3 separate regions of the Homo sapiens genome follow, and all the other regions are linked to region 1. The links are contacts of gene promoters, found by promoter capture Hi-C in blood cells and fetal thymus (Javierre and others, 2016). All regions are on one chromosome and are shown on one strand. The core of a region is centred on a gene start or on the middle of the fragment in contact, and the rest is flanking DNA. Distances in the headings are between cores, read along the strand shown.

Evidence for each region. Contacts are between HindIII fragments. The CHiCAGO score rates a contact against its expected background, and 5 or more counts as called.
Region 2: a contact is called between a fragment that was not itself captured here and the fragment with the promoter of ETV1 in region 1, in 1 of 17 cell types (endothelial precursors). The highest score is 5.1, in endothelial precursors.
Region 3: a fragment that was not itself captured here is called in contact with the fragment with the promoter of ETV1 in region 1 in 1 of 17 cell types (total CD8 T cells); the score reaches 5.2 in total CD8 T cells.

The regions. Positions count from the first base shown.
Region 1 is chr7:13,987,716-13,992,244 of GRCh38, forward strand. ETV1 (ETS variant transcription factor 1) reads right to left here and starts at 1,951. Exons shown (of 14, transcript NM_004956.5): 1 at 1,848-1,951; 2 at 1,553-1,749; 3 at 1,293-1,424; 4 at 371-458. The coding sequence starts at 1,337. RefSeq lists an enhancer at 3,471-3,972. The HindIII fragment of the contact is 3,649 bases long and covers 643-4,291 here.
Region 2 is chr7:13,524,439-13,528,967 of GRCh38, forward strand. All of the region lies in intron 2 of LOC107986770 (a long non-coding RNA gene), which reads left to right. Among named protein-coding and RNA genes, the nearest start is that of ETV1, 460 kb to the right of the region's middle. The HindIII fragment of the contact is 2,109 bases long and covers 1,478-3,586 here.
Region 3 is chr7:13,691,206-13,695,734 of GRCh38, forward strand. The region is part of intron 2 of LOC107986770 (a long non-coding RNA gene); the gene reads left to right. Among named protein-coding and RNA genes, the nearest start is that of ETV1, 300 kb to the right of the region's middle. The HindIII fragment of the contact is 683 bases long and covers 2,376-3,058 here.

The DNA of each region.
Region 1 (4,529 bases), core at 701-3,200:
AAAAAGTAAGCAGTGTACATAGCTGCTGAATTTGTCCCACTGTATTGGATATTTTTAAATTGTTATCTTAGTGAATGGGGTGAGTTATATGCCCCATGGACAAAGGTATTTAAACACAAAACAATGATTAAAAGAAGGTTGTCATTGAGAAGTTTTTATTTCCTTCTTTCATTACTTTGTGATAGGACCATAAAATAGTCTCCCATGCAAACTGCCGCATTATGTAAATCGTTCCAAGTTAAAGTCTTAGTTAGATTCAGTAATTTCAAAGTTTATTATTTTTAAGATAAGACTGAAGTGCTCCTTTTCTTTTAGCAGGGTGGAGAGTGTAGGTAAAAAAATGGGGATTCAGCCCAAAATCAAACCTCACCTTCTGAATCATGAGCCAGATCTCTGTTAATGAATTTTCTTTTCCTGACATTTGTTGGTTTCTCGTTACAATTTCTCCCACGCTGACTCTACAAAGGGAAAGATAAAATCCTTTAAAAGAATGTAAACCTCAGATCACACACACGCACACGCGCGCGCACACACACACACACAGACATGCATACATAAGTCTAATGGATCTTCTCTGAATAGAAAAATAGAAGTCCATAGTATCAACTCTAATATTCATTTTCTCACTTATTTGACAGTGAAAGCTTATGTTAAGCAGGCAGGGAGAGTTGCTTCCCAGTGCCGATCTTAGCACATTACTATTTATCAATCATATATTCATGGTATCTCAGCATCAAAACAACCTGAAGCATTTACACTTAAAGTTGTTTTTAGGCTGGTTCAATGCTAGATTAAAACAGTGGGTTTTATTCTCTCTTGGACAGCCCCTCCTCCCCACCCCACCCCCACAAAAAAAAAAAGCAAAAAGAGTAGAGAAATGAAAAAAAAAAAAAAGAGAAAATGAGAAAAAAAAAAGAAACAAAAACACCCCATATAAACAAAAAGTGTCAGCATTTGTCTCAACTTCATTCTTTTCAATGTGGCAGACAAACCCAGCCAAAAACTTTGAGTGCAGCAGCTGCTGCTGCCCTCCATCTCCTCTTCCACTCATGTTGGGCACTTTAATCAGAAAAAGGGGTCTTAAAAACAAAACTATGCCTTATCCAAATCACTGAAAGGTAAGCTCATTTTGAAGACTGGGCTTCTAGAAGCAGAGTCGCCCTACAGTGGCAACAAAGCAGATAAGTATCTGCAATCCCAACCCCCGTGCCCCCTCCCTTCTCATTTTCTCCCTCTCCCCACCCCCGACGGAGTCAAGTTTATAAACAGCAACTTTCAAACTGATCACTCACATTGGTGACCATGTAAGGCACTTGCTGGTCATAAAATCCATCCATGCTGCTGCTCTTCGCAAATCTCAGCTCAGTATTTTATATTTTGAGCATTTAGCTGGAGATTTCCTCAGGATCTGGACTTCTATCAACCTAGAGGGGAACAAGATGGCTTTTAGGCTTAAAAAAAAATCATGAATGAAGCTCTTGAATTTGCATAGCTAATTACCCTCCGACAGTCCCATTCACAAAAATAACCCTCCCTACACCGCCTCCTTCACCTGGATCCAAAGAGAGCCAACAGAGTTCACAATTTACATATTTTCGGTAGTAGCAAAAATCCGAACAAGAGGCGATGTATTTATTTACACTCTCGATGTTTCCCTGCGCGGTCGGTGTACCCCGGGCAGCTCTGATTCGCAAACGTGTGCAAAACTAGCAATGGCGATCAACGAGACTTGCTTTGCACCTAACGGGACTAAAGAGACGGAGACACCTCTTTCATCAGGATAGTTTTTGCGACCCACAACCATGCAATTATCTGGAGAGACATAAAAAGTTGTTGGAAAGACCCACCTGAAGGCCACGCTAGGCGAAAGGCTGCAAAAACTTCCCTCCAAATTTAATAAAAACATTAATTATAGCCCAGCACTTCCCCCTTGGAAGCCGAAAGCGCCTCTGACAGAGCTCAATTCGGTGGTTTTTCCTCTACTTCTCCTCCAGGGGCCTCCAATCCAAACTGATGGATCGCTGCCTCCCATTGGCTCCGCGTCTCTTTCACAAGATCAGATTTCGGGCTGTCAATCAGGCGGCTTGCTGCCCCTTCCCGCGGGTCTCCCTCGCCCCTCTGCCCTAGGGGGTGCTCGGCCGGTAGGCGCTGGGTCCTCAGCCTGGAAGCGCCACGGAGAGACTCGATTTCCTCTGTAACCCGCTGCTTATTGTTAAGGCGCCTGGGGATACTGAAACCGTGTGTTTCGAGTCGCCAGTTCCCATTATTGGGGTGTTAGGTCCACTATTGGGCTGGTTTCCTTAAAGTACTGTTGTGCGGTTCTGGTATACCCTTAGAGCCGCGATCCACAAAGCCCGTACCGCCTTATTCAGCTGCCCTCCCCTCAGGATCTCCAACCTCTCTACTCTTGCCCTGACTAGGAGCTCACCTCGCTCTCTATCCTCATTCCCACTCAGCTTTTGGCCCAATTTATTTTCCCGTTTTTCAAAACCCACCATCACCATTATGGTTTATCGAAACATTTTTTAAACAGTCATCCTCAACTAAAATTAGATCCTATCGTTCGTGGGACAGAAACATAAAGAATCTATAAGGAAGGCACCTAGGAGATGCAGAATTGCTGATTAGCAGAGGTTGTGATGGGAGGACAACAGAGCAAGCTAGGTGAAAAAGTATAAGTCAAAATGGTCCCTACGTGTGCACTGGGAAAAGGTACTTCCAGTCCACTGTGGCTGTGGGGAGGAGGAGGGAGTGCTTGGGGTTGCTCGTATATCCTAGAACCCGCACGTTTCCTGAGCTTTTGTTATGTATACACGGAGGCGGAGGGTGTCACTTACTGTACTTGACGCTTTCACTTCCTCTCCAGCTTTTAAACAGCCAGAGCCCAGGGTTGGGGGCGAGCGGTGAGATGGCTCGGGTTTCAAGGACAATAACTAGGACGTTAAGCAGTGAGGGCTGCATCTCTGAAGCCACTTGCCCTGATCCTCCTATGGGACTCAGAACAGTAAAGCGTCACTTTAAGGAGCCAGTGTCCAACAGCGGACGGGAGGCCGCGGGGATAGGACCAGGGACTCAATGCTGTTGAAATTCATTTGTGACCAGAACTAGTGACCAAAAGACGTTTCCGGCAGCTGTTCCGCCCGTTAGGAAACGTGCTGCAGTTCTCAATTTCTATTTGAAAGTTTCCTTCCTTAAATAGAACGTTATGGAGACACATTAAAATGGAGTGTAAGAGCGCACAGCACTCAACCCCGGACCTGGGCAGGAGAAAGATCTACTTAAAAAAGAAGCAAACAAACAAACAATCAACACTTATTACTGGGAAAACAACCAATAACTATGGACAGCAAAGACAGACCCCGCGCATTCCCGGAAACTACTAAATCGGAGTTCACAACGCGCGCACCTATAAGCATTTTGAGCGGGAACTGCATTTTAACCCCGGCCAAGGAGAGATTCCAGGAAGCGCCTGGGCCCCGAGGCTGAACAGTGAAGCTCATGGGTACTATCTGAGGGTGCAACCAAGCAGGGGGTCAATAACAAGGGTCCTCCACCACCCTGCACTCCTGGAATAACCCAGCGCCTGTAATCTGAGCAACAGTTTCCAAAGACCTTCTCTGCAGCCCGAGCCTGACGGGTATCCAGGGTAACCGCGAGGGGGCGGAGCTTCGGGTTAGGTCCCGGCGAGGTTCTTCCCGCAGCCAATAACGAGCCGTAAATCCCCAGCCCATTGTTGTTTATTGCTGACCCCTCAGCGCTCCGCTAGGAGATTGGCCGCTTTAGGGAAGGGGGCGGAGTCCCGCCCGCCCCAACAGCCACCTTTCGTCTCCATTCACAAAATTCCGGCCCTTCTTGGTCACGTGGTTGGGGGCGTGGAGGGGTAGAGGAAATGACACAACAAAGGCCCAAGTATCCCAAACCACAAAACTTTTTTCAGCTCGCTGCCTCCTCTTTGTCCTGTCCCTGAAACAGATACTAGATGAGGAAAAAGAGGTTGGGGTCTGGGAGTAATAACAAGAGAGAAAAAAATTAAGACCGAAATTAAAGGAAGGCTCACGTGGGGATAATTCCGGCGTGCACTGCTTAGACAGCTTTTGCACTAGAGGAAAGAAAGAATTGAGAGTGGGGAGAAAGTCTTAAGGACTGGGAACTTTTGCTTGCTGCTTCAAGTCATTGCTTTTAAAGGTGCAAACTGTTCGACTGTAGATGGATTTCAGTTTTTTCACTTAACATTCTGTAATTTTCATTTCTACCTTTTTTTGTATCCCACAGTGTCTTGTTAGTTTTTTAAAGCTTTTATGTATTATTAGTATTATATATTTTTAGGAATATTGATGGTTTTCGCTGGCTGATAGCTTTAGTTTCCATTTCCAAAGACTTATCACTCCTTCCCAGGCCCCCATAAGCTCTGCGCCCCTTCTCCCTCCCTTTAGTGGACTGGCACTCTCAGGCGCTGCGCTGTTAAGCCTCAGATTTTACTACGTATTGCGGTGGCTTCATATTTTCCCTTTTGAGTTCTTTAAACGAAC
Region 2 (4,529 bases), core at 1,282-3,781, 460 kb before region 1:
CCTGTCCTAAAATGAAAATTCTTTTTCTCAGCAATTTATTTGGAGTAAATTTTTCTTCTGCAGATGACCAAATATTTATTTGTCATGGTGATAATAAAGGTTTGATTAATTGCTGATTTTGGAAATAGTAAAAGACTTAAAAATGTCAATTTTCAGCAGGGTGCGGTGGCTCACCCCTGTAACCCCAGCACTTTGGAAGGCTGAGGTGGGCGGATCACAAGGTCAGGAGTTTGAGACCAGCCTGGCCAATGTGGTGAAACCCCGTCTCTACTAAAAATACAAAAATTAGCCGGGCGTGGTGGCAACGCACCTGTAGTCCCAGCTACTCAGGAGGCTGAGGCAGGAGAATTGCTTGAACCCGGGAGGCGGAGGTTGCAGTGAGCTGAGATCGCGCCACTGCACTCCAGCCTGGGTGACAGAGTGAGACTCCATCTCAGGAGGAAAAAAAAAAAAAAAAAATCTCAATTTGCTTGGAGACTGTTGCTTCAAAGAGGAGGATTCATACTGGGAACAAGGAAAAGATCCAACTGATTCTGTACTGAAAAGATGGATATGATCAAGTAGGTTTCCAGTGAGGAAGAAAAGATTAGTGCTCTGTAGTTTGGTGCTGTAAAAAAGCCCCAATTCACATAACACTAGTTTAAGTAATTTTAAGTAGCTAGGTTTTAAAAGTATGTTTTAAATTGTAATTGTAAAAAAAAAGTTTTTGAAATATTTGATAATGTTAAACTGGTGACCCAATATACTACTATGGTTTGAAAACGAAACAAAGCAAAAGCAAACAAGCACAGTCTATCTCTGTTTTTATTGCTTCTATCTTTTGGATTATGCCAAAAATTGATTTTGCCAATAGAGGGCAGTAGTCAAACTAGGATAGGCTGCATCTATCATTTCTGCAACCTCTAATGAGGTAAAAGGACACATAGAATCCTCATCTGCTTTTATGGATATTGCTGTGTAATTGCAGTGTAATTATGGCCCACAACAGCTTCAGAAAATTATCTTTCAAGAAAACAGCTGGTTCTCTTTCACAAACCGAGATGAAAGCTAGTCAATTACAAAAAAAAAAAAAAAAAAAAAGTCCAAAGAAAATATTCCCACAATATATGCTGATATAATAAACAAATGACAAAAAAAGAAATATCATAAAAATTTTAAATGTATAAATCACAGCTACTGATATGAAAAATAACACAAGGTACAAACATAAGAAAATTAGAAAGGTAGGAGATACTTCTGACACATTGTTTCATATTACAATCTAAATGGACTTCTTAGAAAGATTTTCAAATATGTTTTTTCATTTTTTGTTTTCATTTATTTGTATAATTATGTAAATGCATGGATGTATACTTTATGAAATACATGCACAAACATGCAAAGAGATTTAAAGTATAAGATTTTTTAAGCCAGTGCTCAGGAAAAATTTTAAAAATGACTAAATTTGGGCACTTACTCTAAATTTATAATTGTATTAAGCTTTGTGATATGTCAGTAAGCCAATACATGAGTGTCTCATTCTATAAAAACTCTATATACAAAAATTTGAAGGTTCTAAAATCATTAACAGAACGATCAATTATAGATAATCCATTTTGACAAATGGTTTATTTCAATGTTACTTTAAAAGTCAAGCCTTTTAGAATGGCATAGAGGTGTCTGGATTTATGAAAAAATGAAATTCCCAAGGTCAGAAACATAAATACTAGCATTTAAATTTTCTCATCTTCCACCTGATTGATATTTTCAGGCAGTCAGTTATATTTAAACTCTTGGTATGAAGAATAAGAATTGGTGTTTTCTTGACTCACTGAATGGCATGTCATGGCAGTTCCATGTCATTGACGGCCAAGTACCTCTTATGACCCTTACATTCAGAAATTATTTTAATTAACAACAAACATTAACTGAAGGTATATTTTTTAACCTCAGGGGAATTGGTCCCTGAGTGGTTAAAATAGAAACAAATAAGTACAATATATAAAATTATAAATACAAATATGTATGCATATGTATATAGTATATCTATATGTATATATGGCATGCACCTGTATTAAAATAGATACAGAGAGAGGAAATCAAATAATAATTGTATTCTAAGTTTATTTTTTTTTGTTTTTAATTGCACAAAGTAAGTTGAGAACCTACCAGTAATACTCAGTGGTTCTCAAGTGTGGATCCTGGACCATTAACATCATTTACCCCTGGGAACTTGTTAGTTCCTAGTCTGTCTCCATCCCCCCCACCGCCTGAATCAAAATTTCTGACAATGGTCTCCAGCAATCTGTGTTTAAACCAGCCTCCATGTGATTCTGATGCACGTTAAAGTCTAACAACCACTTCTCTGAGTAAATATAAGTTATTTTCATAAGTATTATAATTTGGACACTATGAATTCCTGATTTCATCCTGGCTCCAGGCTTCTTTTTGGGCAAGTTCTGAATTTGGGTATAGTTAAAATGTTTTTATCAGATAGGTTGGTTCTTTATTACTATTGACCAGATCTTTCCAAAACTGGGTTTGTAATCGAGTCTTTACAGAAGCGTTCTTACATTAGCTATGGAATCTAGGCCTCATTAGTTCTTAATAATAATCTAGCATTCGGAAAATTAGAAGACTTGAAACCAAAAAGGTTAAAAAAATTTACCAAATATTAAAAGGGAGTCTGAGAATAAACTCGAGTTTAAAATCCAAATCTTCTAACTTCTATTTGGAATTTTAATCTTAGTAGATTGGAAGCTGTGGATTTTAACTAATTTTCTGTATCAGTGATAAGATAGCTGTCAAATAACTCATAACAGACATTTGTATTCTAAACACATTTTCAAACTTGCTGAGTATTTCACAGAATACATTTTTCAGGCTGAGTACTTCCACGTTTCCCTGTCGTTGTCTGCATGTGAGAATAGTTTCTCCCAAAGTCAAAATTAGGTCTTTTTTTCGCATTTGAGATGCCCAATAGCTGTGGCAGAGGTGCACCCTTTACATATTTTCCGACATTAGGAAGCAAAGGATGCTTAAGCATCAAGTGCAGATCTTTCCTGCCTGTCTGCTTGCTTATTTCTTCTAAGAGCTGTTGTTCACCAACACGTGTTGCTGTCCTCAGCTGCTAGCCAGGAGAACGTGAAATTTAAGACCACTTGTTAACTTTTCTCAGTTACTAGCAGATCCTTTGGAGACAATTATAATTGTATGATTTCCCTCTGCCTAATTAACTGCATCCCTAGTATAAACTTGTTGAATTCAAGTATTCGTCTTTTCTGTTTAATTTATTTTTTATTTACTTATTTATTTTTGTCCTCAGAGCCTGGCACATTGATAGGTGCCTAACGTTAGTGTCAAATAAATAAAACAATTGAATGAGAAAAAAAAAGATACTCAGTTTTGCAGAATTAACTCTATAATGAAAAGATGTTTTTCACATAAAATGTACACATGCTTTGTGATAATATAATAAAATAAAGATGCATCTGTGCATATTATTATGTGTTTATAACAAAATTATCTCAATGCTTGTGACTGCATCCACAGTGCTAAATGTTTATTTGCTATTATCAGTGAAACCTGTGTTGCTATGGACCACATAAGCTTTATAGGAAATAAAGGGCCATGATAAAATTAACAGTTAGTGTTGTTTACCTCCTAAATTTCAATTGCCAACCGCTGACTGCTAGTTGTTTTTTGTATGTATGAACTATTTCTTCAGCATAGCATATGATGTAAATTTTTCTTCTCTTTTGTCTGACTTCCGGTATACAAGATCCTGTATGTTCATAATATGGCTGCAAAAGCCACGGATTTAGATCACTGAAATCACAAAGGAATACTGCCTACTTTCCCTACAGATTCTGCTGAAAGCAGCTTCATCTCAATCTGTTCATTGTCTTAATGAATTTACATCAAACCTCATTCAGCAATGTACCTTTTGTTTTCTATCAGCAGCATTCTTAGCTGTTTGATATTCTTAATCTTGACCACGGCTCCTCAAACTTTTCTACTAACACATTCCTGCAACCAGAGGCAAGTAACAACTACAATTTCTGTGGACTTTGCTTTATCTTAAAATCTATGCAAAGTTTATTCTATTCCATGAAAGAGTAATGCTTTCATATGAAAATAATGGACTTTTTTCTTTTTTTTATTATTATACTTTAAGTTCTAGGGTACATGTGCACAACATGCAGGTTTGCTACATATGTATACCTGTGCCATGTCGGTGTGCTGCACCCATTAACTCATCAGTTACATTAGGTGTATTTCCTAATGCTATCCCTCCCCGCTCACCCTATCCCACGACAGGCCCTGGTGTGCGATGTTCCTCTTCCAGCAACCAAGTGTTCTCATTGTTCAATTCCCACCTATGAGTGAGAACACGCGGTGTTTGGTTTTCTGTTCTTGCGATAGTTTGCTGAGAATGATGGTTGCCAGCTTTAAGTCAGGTGAAAATTGTTTCCTCCAAACAGGTATGCTACATGTTTCCTGTACTATTTTAATAACTAGGAGACACACAATAGCATAATGTTGTAAGT
Region 3 (4,529 bases), core at 1,467-3,966, 300 kb before region 1:
TCTCTGACCCTTTTCCCTCTTAGGCTCTCATCTAGCAAAGAAAACCAGCTTATTTTCTCTTTGAAGGTTAGTGCTGTGTGATGTATCTCAGATCTTGCTCCAGATGCAGTTACTCCCATGCTTTGAATACAGTAAATGCTTATCCTTCGTATCTTTAAAACAAAAAGGGTATAGATTCGGGTTTAAAAGGACCTGAATTTGAGGCCTGGCTCTCTCATCAATGAGCAATTATGTTTAGATGGTTGGAATAAGAACAAATTTTATTATAACATTATCAAGTTTAACTAAAATTATGGCAATGTCTATTTTATAGGTTTGTATAGACTAAATGGAGCATACGTATAAAGAGTCACACACCTAAGGAATGGTAGATTCTTGTTTTGGTTGATATTCTAGAGAAGGCTTTTGTTGATCACTTTGAACGTAGAGCAGGAATACAATCTGTGATGGTTAATATTGAGTGTCAGCTTGATTGGATTGAAGGATACACAGTATTGTTCTTGGGTGTGTCTATGAGGATGTTGCCAAAGGAGGTTAACATTTGAGTCAGTGGACTAGGAGAGGCAGACCCACCCTCAATCTTGATGGGCACCATCTAATCAGCTGCCAGTGTGGCTAGCATAAAGCAAGCAAACATGGAAGGACTAGACTGGCTGAGTCTTCCAGCCTCTGTCTTTCTCCCGTGTTAGATGCTTCCTGCCATCGAACATTGGACTCCAAGTATTTCAGCTTTTGGGCTCCTGGACTACACCAGTGGTTTGCCAGGGGCTCTTAGGCCTTTGGCCACAGACTGAAGGCTGTCCTGTCAGTTTCCCTACTTTTGAGGTTTTGGGAATCGAACTGGCTTCCTTGCTCCTCAGCTTGCAGAGGGCCTATTGTGGGACTTCCCCTTGTGATCCTGTGAGTCACTTGTCCTTAATAAACTCCCTTTCATATATGCATCTATCCTATTAGTTCTGTTTCTCTAGAGAACCCTAACTAATACGCAATCCCCGTAGGAGAGTTCTGTAGAAATAGAGATGAAAAGGGCAAGGCTAAAGTCTTTCCTTGCATACATGAGACATACTTGGGTAGCATTTCTGTAGAGCCCAGTAATCACTTGTGTTGCTTGGTTTACTCTGACATGAATTTGGAAGCTTGCACTCTCAGTTTTAAAGTGGATGTGAAGTACAGAGATGAATGGTTCTTTTTGAACTGAATGGCTTTAAAGATATCTTTGCACAGGATAAACTCATCAGGAGTGGCAAGTGATAAATGAGGGTTATAAAAATTTAGGAATCTTTTACTTATCCTAATTGATGGCTCTCACAAGAGGATTCACAACTTTTTTGTTAGTTGCTCTTTACTTTCTCCAATGTCTGAAGTCTTAAAACAGCAGAGAGTTTGAGGGGTTTTCGTAAAGTTAATTAATGTTAATTGTGTCATGAATTACTTTAAGGAGTCTGTTGAGTGATGGACCCAGAGAAGAGGGTCGATACCATTTAATGTTCAATAGGGGATAATGCTGGTCTTTGGCACCGTTTTACGATCATTAGGGCCATGCTAAAGCTTGTCAGGAACAGCTCTAAAGATCAGTTGCTCATGGCAATTAAAACAATTGAAAATGACCTGGTATTACATTATACATGATGCAACACTGCTCCCAGTATGAACAAACTTTCATTCCATTAGTGATTTTCAATTTCATACCAAGCACTGCAATTTATTTTTCTTAGTTACCTAACTATGGCTGTCTCTGTACTTCTAGCAGGATATTATTAATATTTATCCTATTATCTCATACAACATTTCATACTTAAAGCACTTTGCAATCTTAACTAATTAATCTTTATATCCTGCCTAAAAGGATGGTAAAATACCCTTTTAGAGTTAGGGAAACTGGGTTGAGAGTGGTTAAGAATTGGCCATCAAGAAAATGATCTGATGGGTTCGAAGGGCTACATTTGGGCCTTTTTTCTCTCCCCTTGCAACGAAAATTAATGAACCTTTGTCTTGAAAGATCATACCCTGAAGTATAAATGGCCTCTTACCCCCTAAGAGAGGCAAATGGAATTATTTTTAATAGAATCTATTCTCCAAGCAAAAAAGAATTTAAAAAATTTGTCACCAATAAATACAGAGAATAGAAAGAGGTTTAGTGATTTTTTTTCATGTTAAAACTGTTACCTATTTTGAGGAACTAGAGAACTAAATTTTATTCAAAGTACATAAAGTATATACAAATTTTTCAAAAACAATATGTTTTAGAGATATAATAATAGAAAGAATACCTAATAAATATTAGACAGATATCAGGGATGGTAAGAACATGACTAAGCTGTAACAATGAACTGGTAAATTTTATATTTCCTCTAATTTGCTGATCAGGCAACTGAAGCTTGGAGAGTTTGACTTACTTATGAATACATATTTGATAAACAACAATGCTTAAACCAAAACACAAGTCTGTCTGAATCAGAAGTCCTTAGTTTTTAGGTTACAAAAATACCACTTCCCTGGTAGTGAACAGAAACTAACTAATTTCCAATTTACAAATCCCGTACTTGACACAACAATGATCTGTTTTATTCTGATGCATTGTCTTATTAGACTCATTACTAAAGACCACTCTGCATGCCCCAAATGTGCTGTCTTTCCTTCACCACTCCCACCCCTCAGCAGAGTTTGTGCCCCCAACCCAACCAAAACTTCTACCTTCTGCCTCCCTGCATCCCTTCCTCTCCTCAGGGGTCATGAAAGAACTGATGTCACAGCCCCCGCTCCTACAAATCTGATTCTTTCACTATCAAACGAGGCCTTACCCTAATCTGAATAAGTTTGATACCTTCTGCCCATACTTTTCTCTTACTTTTATGGAGAAAGGTGTCCACATTTTAAACAATGGATTTAAATACCATTTTGAAACTAACCTTGTTATGAACCGAAGACACACACATATAACTGTCTTTTTCTTTTGACTTCTTTTTCTTCTTCCTCTTGTCCTCCCCATGCCCTCATCTCCTCCTCCCAACCTGTTCCTCATTCTCTTTCTCTTCATCTTCCTTATCACATAGTTCTAAGCTTTTAATGCATGTTGGAATAATAGTAAATGTATTTTATATAGTCAGAGATATTAGTTTAAATCAATTTTGTCTGGGTGACTGAAATGTATTCTAAAATGATTTCATTTTATATCCATTTTGGAAATGCTAAATTATGTGCAGTGGACATGGAAAGGAATGTATTGATACTATAGGGATTTGTCATGGGAAACCACTGTGCTAACAACAAATATGTTTACAAGATACATATTTAACTCAGGTGAAAGTGAGACAACAAAAGAAAACTAATAAACCAATAGAAACTGCTTCTACAGAGGATGATTTATGTTACCTAAAGATCTCTATTCCACCTGGATTCAGTTATTTAGAAATTATGACAAAACCGAACGATTCTGCAAGATAAAGCATTGAAAATTTTGAGGTAATGGGGAAAATCCAAATGGATAGGGGAAAATTCATAGGGATAGGGGAAAACCAGCAAGGTTGGGTGGTATATAGAAACAGTAAAAACACTGCATAAGTACATAAATGATCCTTATGGCTATTAACCAAGGAGGAATTGCAAAGAATAAAAATATAGGTTAGAGTATCTATATGAAATCCTGCGCATTGTAAGATATTAAAATCTATAAAGACTACAAAAATAAATAAAAATCTTGTTCTGACTTTTTTTCCTATTCATCAAAGTTCATTTTGGCTACACCTATGAAAGGTCAAAAATAAAAAGTAAGAGGTAAAAAATGTAACCAATAATACAAATGTTTTGAAACATACACTTTACTCATATGCATTAAACTGTACTTTTTCAGTCTTCTCTGTTCTTTTCTGATAATGCAATTCTGTTTGTCTTACTTGTTACTCGAATTTTTTTCACCTGTGGAATACTGTTTGCACATTTATTTTTGTGATTTTTTAGCAAGAAAGAAGGGAAAGCTGATGAGTCATTTTCAACTTTTTTATTCTAAAAAAATTGGAGAAATTAACCTCTTATTGAGACCTACAATGTGCATAACCTGTGTGACAAGCTCAAAGAAGGATTTCAATCAAGTAAGGCTATGGTTAAGCTTGTTAACCAGCTTCATGCTTATTATCTAATCAAGACAGTGACACATGAAAACATAAAACTGTAAAGAATAATTTTGGTAAATAAGTGTCCCAAATGAATAAATATTACAATCAGGGACTACTGTAGAAATCCTGAAGAGGCAACATTACTTTCAACAGTCATGCCACACGTACATTTATACTTTTAAGTTGAATTTAAGAAAAAATAACAATTTAAATGTGTTTTTAGTTTGGTGCCATTGGGGTAGTGATCCAACTTTTAGAATCACAGTTTATATACTTTCTGGGAGCAAATATAAACATATTATCATATCCATGTCCAGTTAAATGATAAGGAAAGTCGTGGGTCTGATGTGAATGGAAGATATACAATTTGGGGATTCACATTTACTCTCTCCATCTCTTAGGCTTGTGCAGCAAGTA